Regions from separate parts of the Homo sapiens genome. Here region 1 is linked to region 2. The links are contacts of gene promoters, found by promoter capture Hi-C in blood cells and fetal thymus (Javierre and others, 2016). All regions are on one chromosome and are shown on one strand. Each heading gives the region's core, a stretch centred on a gene start or on the middle of the fragment in contact. The rest is flanking DNA. Distances are from core to core; before and after follow the strand shown. Region 1 overlaps KLHL32 (kelch like family member 32). Region 2 holds the start of FHL5 (four and a half LIM domains 5).

The links. The method cuts DNA at HindIII sites, captures the fragments that hold promoters and counts their contacts. A CHiCAGO score of 5 or more calls a contact.
Region 1: a fragment that was not itself captured here is called in contact with the fragment with the promoter of FHL5 in region 2 in 2 of 17 cell types (naive CD4 T cells and activated CD4 T cells); the score reaches 6.7 in naive CD4 T cells.

The regions. Positions count from the first base shown.
Region 1 is chr6:97,073,936-97,080,657 of GRCh38, forward strand. All of the region lies in intron 5 of KLHL32 (kelch like family member 32), which reads left to right. Among named protein-coding and RNA genes, the nearest start is that of KLHL32, 150 kb to the left of the region's middle. The HindIII fragment of the contact is 2,524 bases long and covers 4,031-6,554 here.
Region 2 is chr6:96,559,994-96,566,350 of GRCh38, forward strand. It overlaps FHL5 (four and a half LIM domains 5), which reads left to right and starts at 3,135. Exons shown (of 6, transcript NM_001322466.2): 1 at 3,135-3,362. The HindIII fragment of the contact is 3,763 bases long and covers 1,786-5,548 here.

The DNA of each region.
Region 1 (6,722 bases), core at 4,043-6,542, 520 kb after region 2:
ATCAAGGGGCATGTGCCACAGGCCCTAGGAAGTGGCTGCTTGTCTGTGTCATGGACTTGGCTCCAGATACCCTGGCCTCAGTCCTGAACATTCAGTATAACGTTTGCCTACTTCAGAGGCACAGTTGAAGGCCTCGGGTCACACAGTTTGTTTGCTGCAACAGTATATTTATGCAGGACAGAGTCATTCCTGTCTTCACTGAAATGCATACTCCAGAGTAATGATTCCTAAACTTGATTATGCAAGGAATCATCTGAATGGATGGCTAAAACAGACTGCTTGGGCCCCACTCCAGAGTTCCTGTTTCAGGAGGTCTGGGGAGGGCCTAAGAACCTGTATTCTAACAAGTTTTGAGGGATGCTGATGTCTGAACTAGGGAGCACAGTTTGAGAACTCCCGCTCTAGATTCTGTTGCCACACTGCTTTTTATCAAGTACCTGACTGTTAAGTCACTGATATTCAGATTTTGAAAGTGTATTTGTCACATTTAGATGAATTTGAATTGCTCCTAGTAACATAAAGATATTGATGCTATGTATGCTTCATAGCATCCAAAAGATAAAAAGCGAAAATAATGCAAATCTGAAACAAACAAACAAAAAAACCTTCCAGGTCTCACTCTTATTCGTAATAATGATTAAGACAGTCTGTAGGTAAGTGAGGGATTTAAAAAAAAAAAACAAAAAAACTACTTTATTAAGTTATGATTGACATACTGAGGGATGATTTAAAGTCTGCAGTACTGGGCTAATTTTCAGCAATCTGACTTTGTGTACTAGAGCAAGTAGGGAAATAGATGATAATGACTTCTATACTATTCTTTTAAACATTTTTAAACTGATTTTGCCTATCCTGGTTCAAAAAGTACAGTTATTGAAATTTTAGTTTTAAAACCCTAGTTGCTCAGATAAACTATTTTCAATTAAAAGAAAATATATATATATATTAATTTCTTATATATATTCCATATTCATTGGCAATCTCCTTACGTGCTGAGTCAGGTTTAGTGAACTTTGAAACAGCATTTTGCAGCACGTAGTGACTGGGGCCAGAATTATTAGTTATTGTTGACGGCTATGTTTCACTTCCTCCCTACTAGATTTCCAGCTTACTAGAGAATTTCCCAAGGAACAATATAAAATTATTCATGAGCCTTGGGTATTATGCATACAATTGATTATGAAAATGTACTAGTAACCTAATTGTAGAATTCCTCTGTTACACAGCACAAATGTATTTAAATAGGCCTTGCAAGACTCCAAAAATTAGAGCATGCTGGAGTTTTCCTTGTACTTTTGAATTGCTGCTAATACTTTGTTTTCATTTAATCAAATTGTATCATATACATATGCATATCAATGTTTGAATATATCATTACATACAGTTGTCCATACATATTTACATATTTATATACAAAATATGCCTATATCTCTCTGTATGTTTATACATATAAACATATCTGAGTTTGATTATTTTATCATATTACAAGTTATCTGGCCTGCATTGTCAATGAATTGCTCATTTTTTCTTCTATAACAATTAGACTTTATCCTATCAACTCTATGACAATGTTGAGAAAATTCACAGAGCCCTTCACATGCACAATAAACATGATAACTTCTTTCCTATATAACTGATCCCAAGGCTATTAAAAGGTTTGGATTTTGTTTATTTATTGGTTTGTTTCAACCTGTTCCAAAGGCCAGACCTTACCGCACATCCACACCAGCCCCCTTTATGTTGCTTTCTCTACTCCTGGAGTACCAACCTTTCCTGCAGCACCAGGTTAGGTAGTCACATAATACCTTGATTTATAACTCAGTTGTAATCAAAATAGGAAACAGGTGGAATCACAACTGGGTATGGTGCCTTGGATATTAATGGCTTGGCTCAGCAGTGGAATTTCTAAAGCCGTATACACTTTTTTGTCTTAATTATGCATTCATTAAAAGCTTTTATACCCAACAGAATAAAGTAAATATTTTTTGATCTCCATAGTGTGCTCCCAGACTGTAGATTTGCACAGCGGGGTCTTGATAATCTGAATAAATTGTATTTCCCCAAGGAGTTTATCTTTCAAATAAGGTCATAAAGAAATGCAGCTCCCCCATCCGTAGATTTCTCCATGTGCCTTTTCTGCTATGAGTAATATAGAGCTTGAGAACCAGAGTATATTATAGTAATACATACTTGCTTATGGTCCAGTATAATGTCTCTATCTGTTCTCCCTGCTTATCTCCAGTGAAGTATTTTTTGAGTACAAAAGAAATGACAGCTATGGTTTTTGCTGACACTCATAGAAAAACAATGTCCATATTAGACATTCAGTGTTTTCTTCCCTTTACCCGCTCAGTGAGTATGGACTATGCAAAGCTATAGTTTAAGTACTGTTAACAGCATTTGTAAAAGGGAGTAATGATAGCTACTGTATGTTGAGCATCTACTATGTAGAAGGTACTTTATCTGCACTTTTGAGAATCCTTATCACAGATCTGGAATGCAGTGTCACTTTTCGCAATTTTTAGATGAGAAAATTAGACTTGAAAAGATTAACCACTTCCTGAGGCCATCCAGATGGGTCAGCTCCAAATCATGTGTTTTTCCTACAGCTCTAAACTAAAGACACCACCAGTGCCTTGTTCCCGCAGTTTACCACCCAGTGAAGGAGACAGGGAAACTATGAAATTAGGAACCTAAGTAAATATGCACAATTAGGTGTACTTATAATATTTCTAAATCATGAAGACTAAGATGGCAATGCACCTCATGGTGCATACGTATGCTAAAAGTAGCACACAGTTCTGAAAAGTTCAGGAAATAGCTTTTTCCCATCTTTTTAGGTTGCCATATTTATCTCCAGTGTAGCTAACATTTCTAGGCACGTACCTTTATTTAAATATTAAATAAATGTATTAATATTTAATAAATTATTTACATTGTAAAATATTTAAATATTTTTAGAGGAGCAGGAAAATCTATGTTTTTGCCATAAACTAAGAAATAAAAGCAATAAAATTTGAAATTTTAAAGATGTGGCATTTTTTCTTGCCTACCCACTGTATATCAATCAAAACTTGCTAGGTAGCCACTTTCTGAAGACAGAGAGGAAGATCTAAAGAACTAAAGATACTATCTGCACCTTTATGCACAGCTGGAGAGAGAAGAGTCAAACAAATGATACAAATAGCAAGTGCAATTAAAAGTCAGAGGAGGGAAAGTCCTCCAAGCTGGAGTGGCCTGCCTTTCCCTGGAGATGGAATCTGATCTGGGTTGTCCCGCAGAAGGGAAGGGCATTTATATTACAGAACTTCCCCTTTCTCACAAGCTTTTTAAAGTCTACTGAAGCAAACGATGTCTTTAAATCTTTCACAAATAATAATCATTTGTGACAAAAGAGTCTCAAAGTTCTGCTTATGGTATAAAGGAAAATTAATGTGAATTCATTTGATAATGTCTGATTTTTTTTTTTGGCAAACAGTTTGCACATTTATCTTTTTCTGATCATCACTAAAAACCAAGAGAAGTAAGCTTCTTTTTCAACATTCTGGGGAAAGGGGGAAAAATCTAACATATAGAAAACAAGGAGACCCAAGATTCACTGTGGAAGTCAGGCCTCATGTATCTGGCACCACAAGAGGGCATTCCATTTTATTTCCCAATTGTATGAAAAACCCAGTACCTAGATAGCATCGCAAGGGACTTTCTGAAGCTCAGATTAAGTACTTAAGAACACTTTTCTCAGTTAATTGTGGGAGAGCTGTTTATTTTGCCCAACTGTTAAGTTGTATCTATAACCAAGCTATTATTTCCTCTTTTCATGTAAAGTCATAGATGTGCCTCACAACTGTTTGCTTTTTTTTCATTCTTGATCCAACAAATACTTCTCTGTTGCAATCTATGAGAAAGACATTATGATTGACATTGTGCAGAATACAAAAAGCATACGATGCGAAATCTACTTTTTACTAGTTTACTAGGTACATTTTTAATAGTTTGAAGATAAGCTACATGCATGAATAGCTTAGTGACAAGCTTATGTGTATGTGATAGGAAACTTGAAGTGGGAGGCATTAGAATTCATTCAGTGATAAAGAGCCTTATACTTACCGTATCCTACTTGCTACTTGGTCCTTATAAGCAGCTGATACAATTTTTAAATTTCACTTTGACTTAACATTGTTAAAAATCAAACCATACTGATTTTTATGTAGAGTGGTTTCTCAGGCTGTTTGGAATAGATTTGGGAGTGGTTTTAAAAAGAGAATTTCTTGACTTACAGAGCCAAGGATGGCCTTTCATTTAGAGAAATTTTCAAATTGTGATATAAAATCAACATTTTATATAAGAACTTCATGTATGCTACTACATCATGGGCATAGAACCACTATGTCTCCTGCCTATCTTTATCTATAGTAAAGTATCGACATGGGGTAATTTAGGTGACATTTCGAAGGAGAGTTGTCTAAGTGAAGTGCATCAATAATTGGAAATGAAAGATTATAATTACATTGATGAAACAAAGCATTGTTAAAATAGCCACATCTGTTGAGTGTTATTACCCGGAAAAATCTGTAATCCTATTCAATTTGGACATCTTAGAGGGGGAAAACTTGGGAAATCAAAATGAAATTACTCTTGTTTTAACCTTGAGAGGAGTTTATTATCTTTAACCCAAGTCATAGTTTTCTATAGTGATAGTACATGATGCTTATTTTTCTTTCACACGTCAGTGGCATTCTCAGAACTAGATGAGACAGCAAGAGAAATAGGTGTTTTTAAGGCTTTGTTTTGAAGGGTGCCTCATCTAGTTTTAAGAATGTCAAAACACCTATTTTTAAGATGACTGCATCCACTGTAGACTAACTCCATTATCTACCCCACAAACAGATATCATATAATTATGCATAATGTGTATAATTTCTGTGTCAGAGGCATGATTAAACTGCAGTGTGGATGGGCAAGGGGTTATTGACAAGCCAGGGAGCCACGGCGGTAGCCAAAACTAAGACTATGTTTCAGAAATTCAGATGATTCTCAGCTTGTATCATCATTGGCACACAAGACACAGCTCTTGAGCGTGACATCCCTAAGCTAGGCTGTGGGTTATGTGTGGTAAATATGCAGACTCTAGGCATAAGGCTGCATGTTTTTCTCTCATTCAAGAAGGTATAGTAGAATACAAGTGAGTCTGGGTGGCATTATTTCATAGGCTTAAATCTACTCTAAATTATAAACAAAGTACTTCTTGTATGAACTTTGGTCATTTATTAGTAGTTCCTGCATAATTGAGATATTGAGAGACACCGCAAAGGCCATGGCCACTCTGCTGCAGATGAGACCCACCAGGGGACATCACCGAGGCCAAGACTCCTCCTTCTCTTGCTGCCTTCACTGGCTTGGGAAGGGTGGGCTGAAAGGCCACAGGATCAACACTGTCCTCAAACTGCCCTCCTTCCTCCCATTCATGTCCTAACTGCTCGATAATTGCCTTGCAAATGTAACTACACTTGAATATAAACCAAAATAAAACAATATTTGCCTTTCCCATATTTTTACCCCTACCGTATTTGGTAGTTAATCTGGGGAATAACCATTGAAGGAACCAATTAGGGAAAGAGGCCACACAGAAAGACTGAGTTTGGGGAATATATAAAGTTTAAAAATTATTGAACTTGAAAAACTGGTGTTTATTCCATAGCTAGTGTGGTATTGAGGACACATTTTATGGCTCCTCTTCTCTTATTTAACTTGTCATTCACACTATGAGAAACAAATAGAAGGAATAAGAGAAGCCAAATAGCCCTAAACCAAAGGAAAATAAATACTATTTAAAAATATTCCCTAAAGAACAACAATGTATGCACCATAATTCTGAATAGAAACTAAATTTCAAGTGAGAAGCAGTGTGACAGAAATGAAACCTTTTTAGAAAAAAAAAAGAGTAAGATTTTCTTTTACTCAAGAGAGTTTCTTGTTGCTGAGCTGTAATTTCCATTCAAAACCACTACCGCTACCTGGATACTTACATTTTTAAGTCACAGAATGCAGGAGAGCTGAGACAATCTCGTAATTAGGAAAAAGTATCATTTGAAAAGATATTAAAATCTTTTGATCTAAGTAGCCAATTGATAGAGGAAATAATTCTCTGTTGGACTGTAAAAGAAATTTGGGGTGGATTGATTTTTTTGTCACAGAAGAATGATTATATTATACTTGTTCAGTAACACTTTCAACTCTAGTCATTATTACCAATTTTCCCACGCAGAAAACAGGATGACCACTGGCTTTGCCTTTGTGTGTACGTGTCAGAAGGCCAGAAAGAGAAAGGGACAATCAGGAAGGCCTGTGAGATATGAAAAATGGCCTGATTTGGACAAGGTTCAGAATTGGATAGGCATATTGGAAAGACATGGGCTATTCTGTTTTTGCCTAATTATAAGTAAACAGAAAAAGCTCATGGGTATTCTTTCATTAAACACACATGTATTAAGCATCTGCTCCCTACTGGATACCAGGGACACACAAGGCATGAGACACAATCTTTGCTTCCGAGAAGCTTAGATTTGGTAGAGGGAGATAGATCTGCAGTTAAAGGGTGCTTGCAGTGACAAGTGATGTGCTAGACATATTTGCAGAGGGCAGAGTAGAAGTACACAGGAAGAGGTGGTCAATTTGACCTGACCCAGGGAAGTTGAAAAGATGATATGGTTTCTTCATTCAGC
Region 2 (6,357 bases), core at 1,885-4,384:
TGGATGAAGCTGGAAACCATCATTCTCAGCAAAGTAACACAAGAAGAGAAAACCAAACACCACATGTTCTTACTGATAAATGGGAGTTGAACAATGAGAACACATGGACACAGGGAGGGGAACACCACGCACCGGGGCCTGTTGTAGGGTGAGGGGCTGGGGGAGGGATAGTATTAGGAGAAATATCTAATGTAAATGATGAGTTGATGGGTGCAGCAAACCAACATGGCACATGTATACATATGTAACAAACCTGTATGTTGTGCACATGTACCCCAGAACTTAAAGTATAATAATAAAATAAAAAATATTTTATTGGCTTGGAAAATTACAGTATATTAAGTGAAAACAAGGATACAGATTTATAATGGGGTTCAGGATGCACTACGCTAAAATATGGCACCTTGGTGTTTGAGAAAACTCCAGAAGCAGGAAGATCATTCCCACCTTCCCTTTACCCTTCTCTCCCGAGGCAGGTCATAAGACCCTCATTCAAGAGACCTCCCTATGCCTGGAAGAAAGGAACACAAAGAAGAGTCTAAACAAACAGGCCTTGCTAAGTTCCCCCGAGTGTATAATCATTAGACTATATCCCCTTTGTCCAGTCATACTTTTCCATGACTATCCACTCTTCATCAAATCTAAGCATAAAAATACACACGTTTATCTCTTGCTTTGAGTCTTCATTTCTGAAAGGCTCCCATGTCCCATAAAAACTTACATTAAATAATTTGTATACTTTTATTAATTTGCCTTTTTTTATAGGGGCCTCAACCATAAACCTAGTAATGGAAAAGAAAAATATCTCGCACTTTCTACAAGTATATACAATGTGGTCTTGGTTTTCTAACTAAATATACTGCATAACTATGTTATGCAATATATTTACAAAAAATTTTAGCATTTCTCTGTATCATTAATATATGAATGATACAAAGCCTAAAGAGGTACACAAAGATTTGGTCTGGGCTGTCTTGGATTGCAAATCATTTTACATTTTACATTTTCTGTATATGTTTTCCAGTTTCTGTTCCAGATTATCTGCAAGAAGCATGTATTTTATAATTTAACAAACTTATTTAAAAATAATATTTTTCTATAGAGAAGGATAGAAAGGGATCAGGCTGAGGCAGATGCCAGTTATTTTATGGCTGACAGAATAATCTGAGTGAGACATGTGAGACATGGAATGCAGGGGTGAGGACAAATTTGAGAAAGATCATTTAACAAACTAGAACCTACAGAAGGTGGACAATGATGGGGATGGTGGAGGATAAATGAGGAAAGGGAATACTCTAACATAAGGGGTGGATGATTGTGCCATTCCCTGAAGTAGGAAATACAGCAAACTAACAAGTTTGGAATGGGGAGAAGACAATAAGGATATTTGGGACTGTTGAGTTTGAGATGGCTGGGGACCCCTAGACAAGGTTTTCTAATAGATAGCGGGATACAGGTCTGGAACCTTGAAGAGTGGTATCAGATGAAAGTACACATTTGGGAGTCATGTTGTATAAAATTGTTCATTGTTTTGATGAAGAACGTGATGGAAAGTCTGCAGAGAAGCATACTGAACAGAAGATAAAGCTCTAGGGAAGAGTGAGGTGAATAGAGAGAAAGTGAGGGTGCTAAGAGCAAACAGAAAATCAGAAGGGTGTAACATAGCAAAACCAAGGGAAGATAATTTCAGAAAGAAATAGACATGGCCAGAGATGAGAATTTTTCGGTAAGACTGAAGACCATACTCTTTGGGTTGCTAATCAAGGTTGTATATGATCTTAATGAAGCTTTTTTGGAGCGGTTCAAGTGAAAGACAGATTGCAATAAGTTGGGAGGGAGAAGAAGGCTCAGAATGTAGTAGGTTTGGAATGACTTGGTGGATGTAGATTACCCTCTCAGGAAGCATGGGAGCAAATAAAGAGGGTGATGGTCCCAGGCACTTTTACATCTCAAGGACTGCTTTCCTTGCCCATAAAACAAGGAAAATACAGGCAGTACCTGTTTAGCAATGGTGTCCTAAGGATTAAAATCTATTACTAATGAAATATACTTGTGTCCTTTTGCTGAATCCAAATTTATTGTTGTTAGTCGCCATATGTTCATTTTCATAATGTCTTAATCATTAAAGTCAAGTGAATAACAAAACATACAGTTAACTGGCTCTGCATTTCTCTAGCTCAAGTTCTTTGACTGTATATACCCGAGTTTGACCTTAGAAGATATTAACATTTCATTCCTTTAGCAGTTAGAACAAGGACAGTTTAAGTTTGGTCTGGGATTAAGGCAGAATTTCTTCTCTCATCCTGCCTTCCAAACTGAAGAAATGGCCTCAAATGGAGATTCTAAGAGAAAATGTCACTTGCCTTATGAATCAGTGTGCCCCACTGAGGATACCTATTATGGATTGGTTTAATATCCAAAAATTTCTTCAGATCCAACTCTTGACATCTCTGTCCACTTTTTGTGTTTTGAAGATTTCAAAAGACTCAATGAGTTTATGCTTTATGAAGTCATAGAGCCATGGATGTGATGTCACAATTGTGGCCAGCTCACCAGGAAGCAGGCAGAGCGGGGAAGGCTGAGTCCACACTGCAAGTCCAGAGAGCAGGGAACTACCTTGAGTATTCTACTCAAACTTATGTCTCAGAGTTCCCCAATTTCCCAAGAAGGGAGAGATAGAGGCCACAATCCAGGGGGCCATCTCTTAAGGTACCAATAATTTTGCAGGTAAGAGCATGGGACCTCATCCCTTTCCAGATGGCCTCAAAAGGAGATTCTAAGAGACAATGTCCAAAAGAAAAGCTCAGCGGTTCAGACATTTCTAACCTAAAAGAAGGGTTCTGATCACCACCAGAAAACAAAGAAAACAAAGCCAAAAACAGATTGAGGAAACAGAAAATACATCATCCTTTTAGAGTATTATTTTTATAAATATGCCCTTAATTTAGCCTAGTTAGTGGAAATTTCTCAAGTGTGTATGCGTCTGTGTGAACATTGTGTATTTTAAACTTTTTGGAGCTTAGCCAGATACTTCGAATGCTAATCCTGGCAGAATTTCCCTTTAAGGATGTCCTGCAGAGAATTTGTTACTCATAGTTTTAAGTAAAAATTGACAAATAGTGCTTTTTCAGCCCAGTAGGAGTCATGTACACGGTATAAGACTTGGAGGAAATGCAGGGACCCTTCTGTTTTCTCCTGCAAAGTTGAAAAAGCTGCATGCAGTTGGAAGGGATCTTCAGATGGTGCTGGTGACTTTCTGTTCCTTTTGGAGTTGACATGCATGTGGATTGGAGGAAAAATAATCAACATATATTCTCCTTTCGTACTGTTTAAATCACAGGAAGAAGCGGCTTTAAGACAAAGTGAGTTCTTTCCCCCAAATATTTCCTTTGTTTTGTTTTGTGGTATTTTGACTTCTCTAATTTTTTTTTAAGGATGAGAAATTTTTATAAACTTTCCAGTAACTACTTAAGAGAAAACTTTTGCTTGGCAAAAGTGTATGCCTTTTGAAGTTTCTTAGCCATTTTAGCTAAAGGTTATCAAATTTTATATGCTGAGCTTTTCAGATTTCTCATTCTTATAACTTGCATGTGGAGGTAACATAGGGGCCAGATAACTCCTTGGAATTGCCTCTTGAGTTTTTCTAATGGTCTTAATGTGGGGTATAGCTTTATTGTTGTAAAAAGAGGAAGAAGAGGAGGGCTCTTGAGATTTTATTTGGCTTAATTTATTTGAATGAATAACATTATCACTGAGCATATTTTATGACTAGATTTATATTTCAAGAGCACATTTTGAAGTCACTTACAGGTTTTAAGTAAAAGGAGTTAATGAGATTCCTGCTATTTTCAAGAAAAATCTGCCTACTTTCCAGAAGTGGGCATACAAAAATTCATAATCTTTAATTTTCTAAGGTTAAATTAAAATATCTGTGTTTCCAGCCCACAGAAATATATAATAGACTATATCAATCTAAAGTGCTACTTCTTGAAACAGAGGTAGTGTTATTCAGGCAAAAAGCATACATCCCATATGTGTTAATGCTTTCTCTCTCACTATTTTAGTCATATCCTCTTTGGTACCTATCATTCATTTGAAAACCAAATGCAGCTCCTCAGCTGTCATTTCAGACTTTAGAAAATTGGAAACTAAAAAGAATTATTAACAAAATGCATAGCTCTCATACATAAAATGTAAGGAAATCCTTGAGCCATTTTAGCCCTCATTTTATATCCACAATACCATCATGTGTAAATACTAGCATTTTTATTAGCAAAGCATATGGATTAAAATTTAACATAGGTATTGCAAACATATGTATCATACAAGATATTTCTTAACATATGTGTTATGATATATGCTTTAAGCCATAATCCAAATTGCTTTAAGGGGAAGGTAAACTCTAGTGTCTGTTTTCTACACTTGTTCTATTTATTCTCACATTATTATTAGTTGCCAAATCTGGGACTGTTCTACCTAAGCAAGAGTAGTAGATTTGTGTTTTAATATAACACCACCTCACTGACAAATTTACCTCTTATTTTTATTACACTTACCAACATTTTGAGTAAAGCTGAATTAATCTGTGTTTCTTACATAAGACTGGGTACTTTTCTACTATAATATTACAAATAAGAGTTTAGAAAATTTAGAGATTTAGAGAATATTTAGAGACAGATATTTAATTTGTCTGTTTTTATTTTTTCAATCGAGGGAACATGATCTCTTTAGAAATGAAAGCTGAATACTTGGGTTCGCATGGGAAGCTCTGAATCAGATATTAGTTAAACCAGCTTGCATTTCCTTGTTCTTGTAATTATCTTTTTCCTCTCCAATTACCATAATTTTTCTTGGTTACTTTTTGGTACCCTGAAAGCTCATTGAAGGAGAGGAAGAGAAGAAAGAGGTAGAGGAAGAGGAGGAGAAGGAGGACTCCTTTTTGCCCAACATGCCTCAAATCCCTGCAAAATAATCAGCTTGAGGCCAGGCACGGTGGCTCACTTCTGTAATCCTAGCTTTGGGAGGCCAAGGTCGTGGGGATCACTTGAGCCCAGGGTTCAAGACCAGCTGGGGCAATATAGGGAGACTCTATTTAAAATAAAAATAAATAATCAGCTTATTGATGACATACCCTAGTATTTTATATGAACTAGTAAAACATTCTTATGGGTTTGGGTTTACCTTATCCTCACCATATGTCTAAACTTTCACATGGGCTAATTACCCTGATTAGAACATACTAGGATATGTCAACAGCAAGGTTTACATTCATTAAATAAATAAAGCTAGAGAGTCTCTTTGAAAACAATAGTGTGATGTGGAGAACAGAGTCAAGGTTTTGAAGTGTCATTCATACTGAGTTTTCTATGAATGAGGGCAAGTGAGTTTGCCTCCCTACCTTAAAGATATAATTAAAACAGCTGTGTTATAGAATTTTATATTAGAATAATAATAACAGTAGTCATTTTTATTTTTTGTCTTCTCAAATTCTTCGGTTATACTTCCAGCACCAATGGACCTTAAATTTATCTCACTTGATTTTTAGCAAAGCTTTGAGCGATTCCTTTGCATATTCATTTTGCCAAAGGAATACTCACCAAATGGATCCTGAGTAGATTATTTTGATATATTCAGGTTGTCTCCTCCCATTTAAAAATATACCTTTTTGTATTTTTCCAATATCATTGCAATTATAATGCTCTAAAGATGGTGGTGTGGAAGTGGAGTGGAGAAATATGCTTCTTGGGCTTGTTCTCCAGCTTGATTTTGTTTAACTATCTCTTACAATTATTCATAAAACAATTTAAGTAACATGTCATAAGTCACATGACTTCTAAGATTTTTTTCTTCTTAAATTTTTTCTTTTTTGCTTTTATTAGTATTACTATAGACATGTAACTGTACATATCCATCAGGTACAATGTGATATTTGTATACATGTATATGACAAATTATCAAATCAGGGTAAATAGCATATTTATTACCTTATTTTTCATTTCTTTGTGTTGGGAACATTTACAATCCACTCTTCTAGCTATTTGAAAATATACAATAAATTGCTAATTATAGTTACCCTATAGTGCTATAGAACACTCAAACTTATTCCTCCTATCTAGCTGTATTTTGTATTTCTTAACCTACCTTTGGCTATCTCTTTCTTCCCCCTACCCTTTTCTGCTTCCAGTAAGCACTATTCTGCTCTCTCCTTCTATGAGATTGACTTTTTTAGCTTCTTCATATTCATGAGGACATGCAGTATTTATCTTTCTGTGTCTAGCTTATTTCACTTAAAATAATGTCCTCCAAGCTCATTCATGTTGCCGTGAATGACAGAAATTTGTTCTTTTTTACAACTAA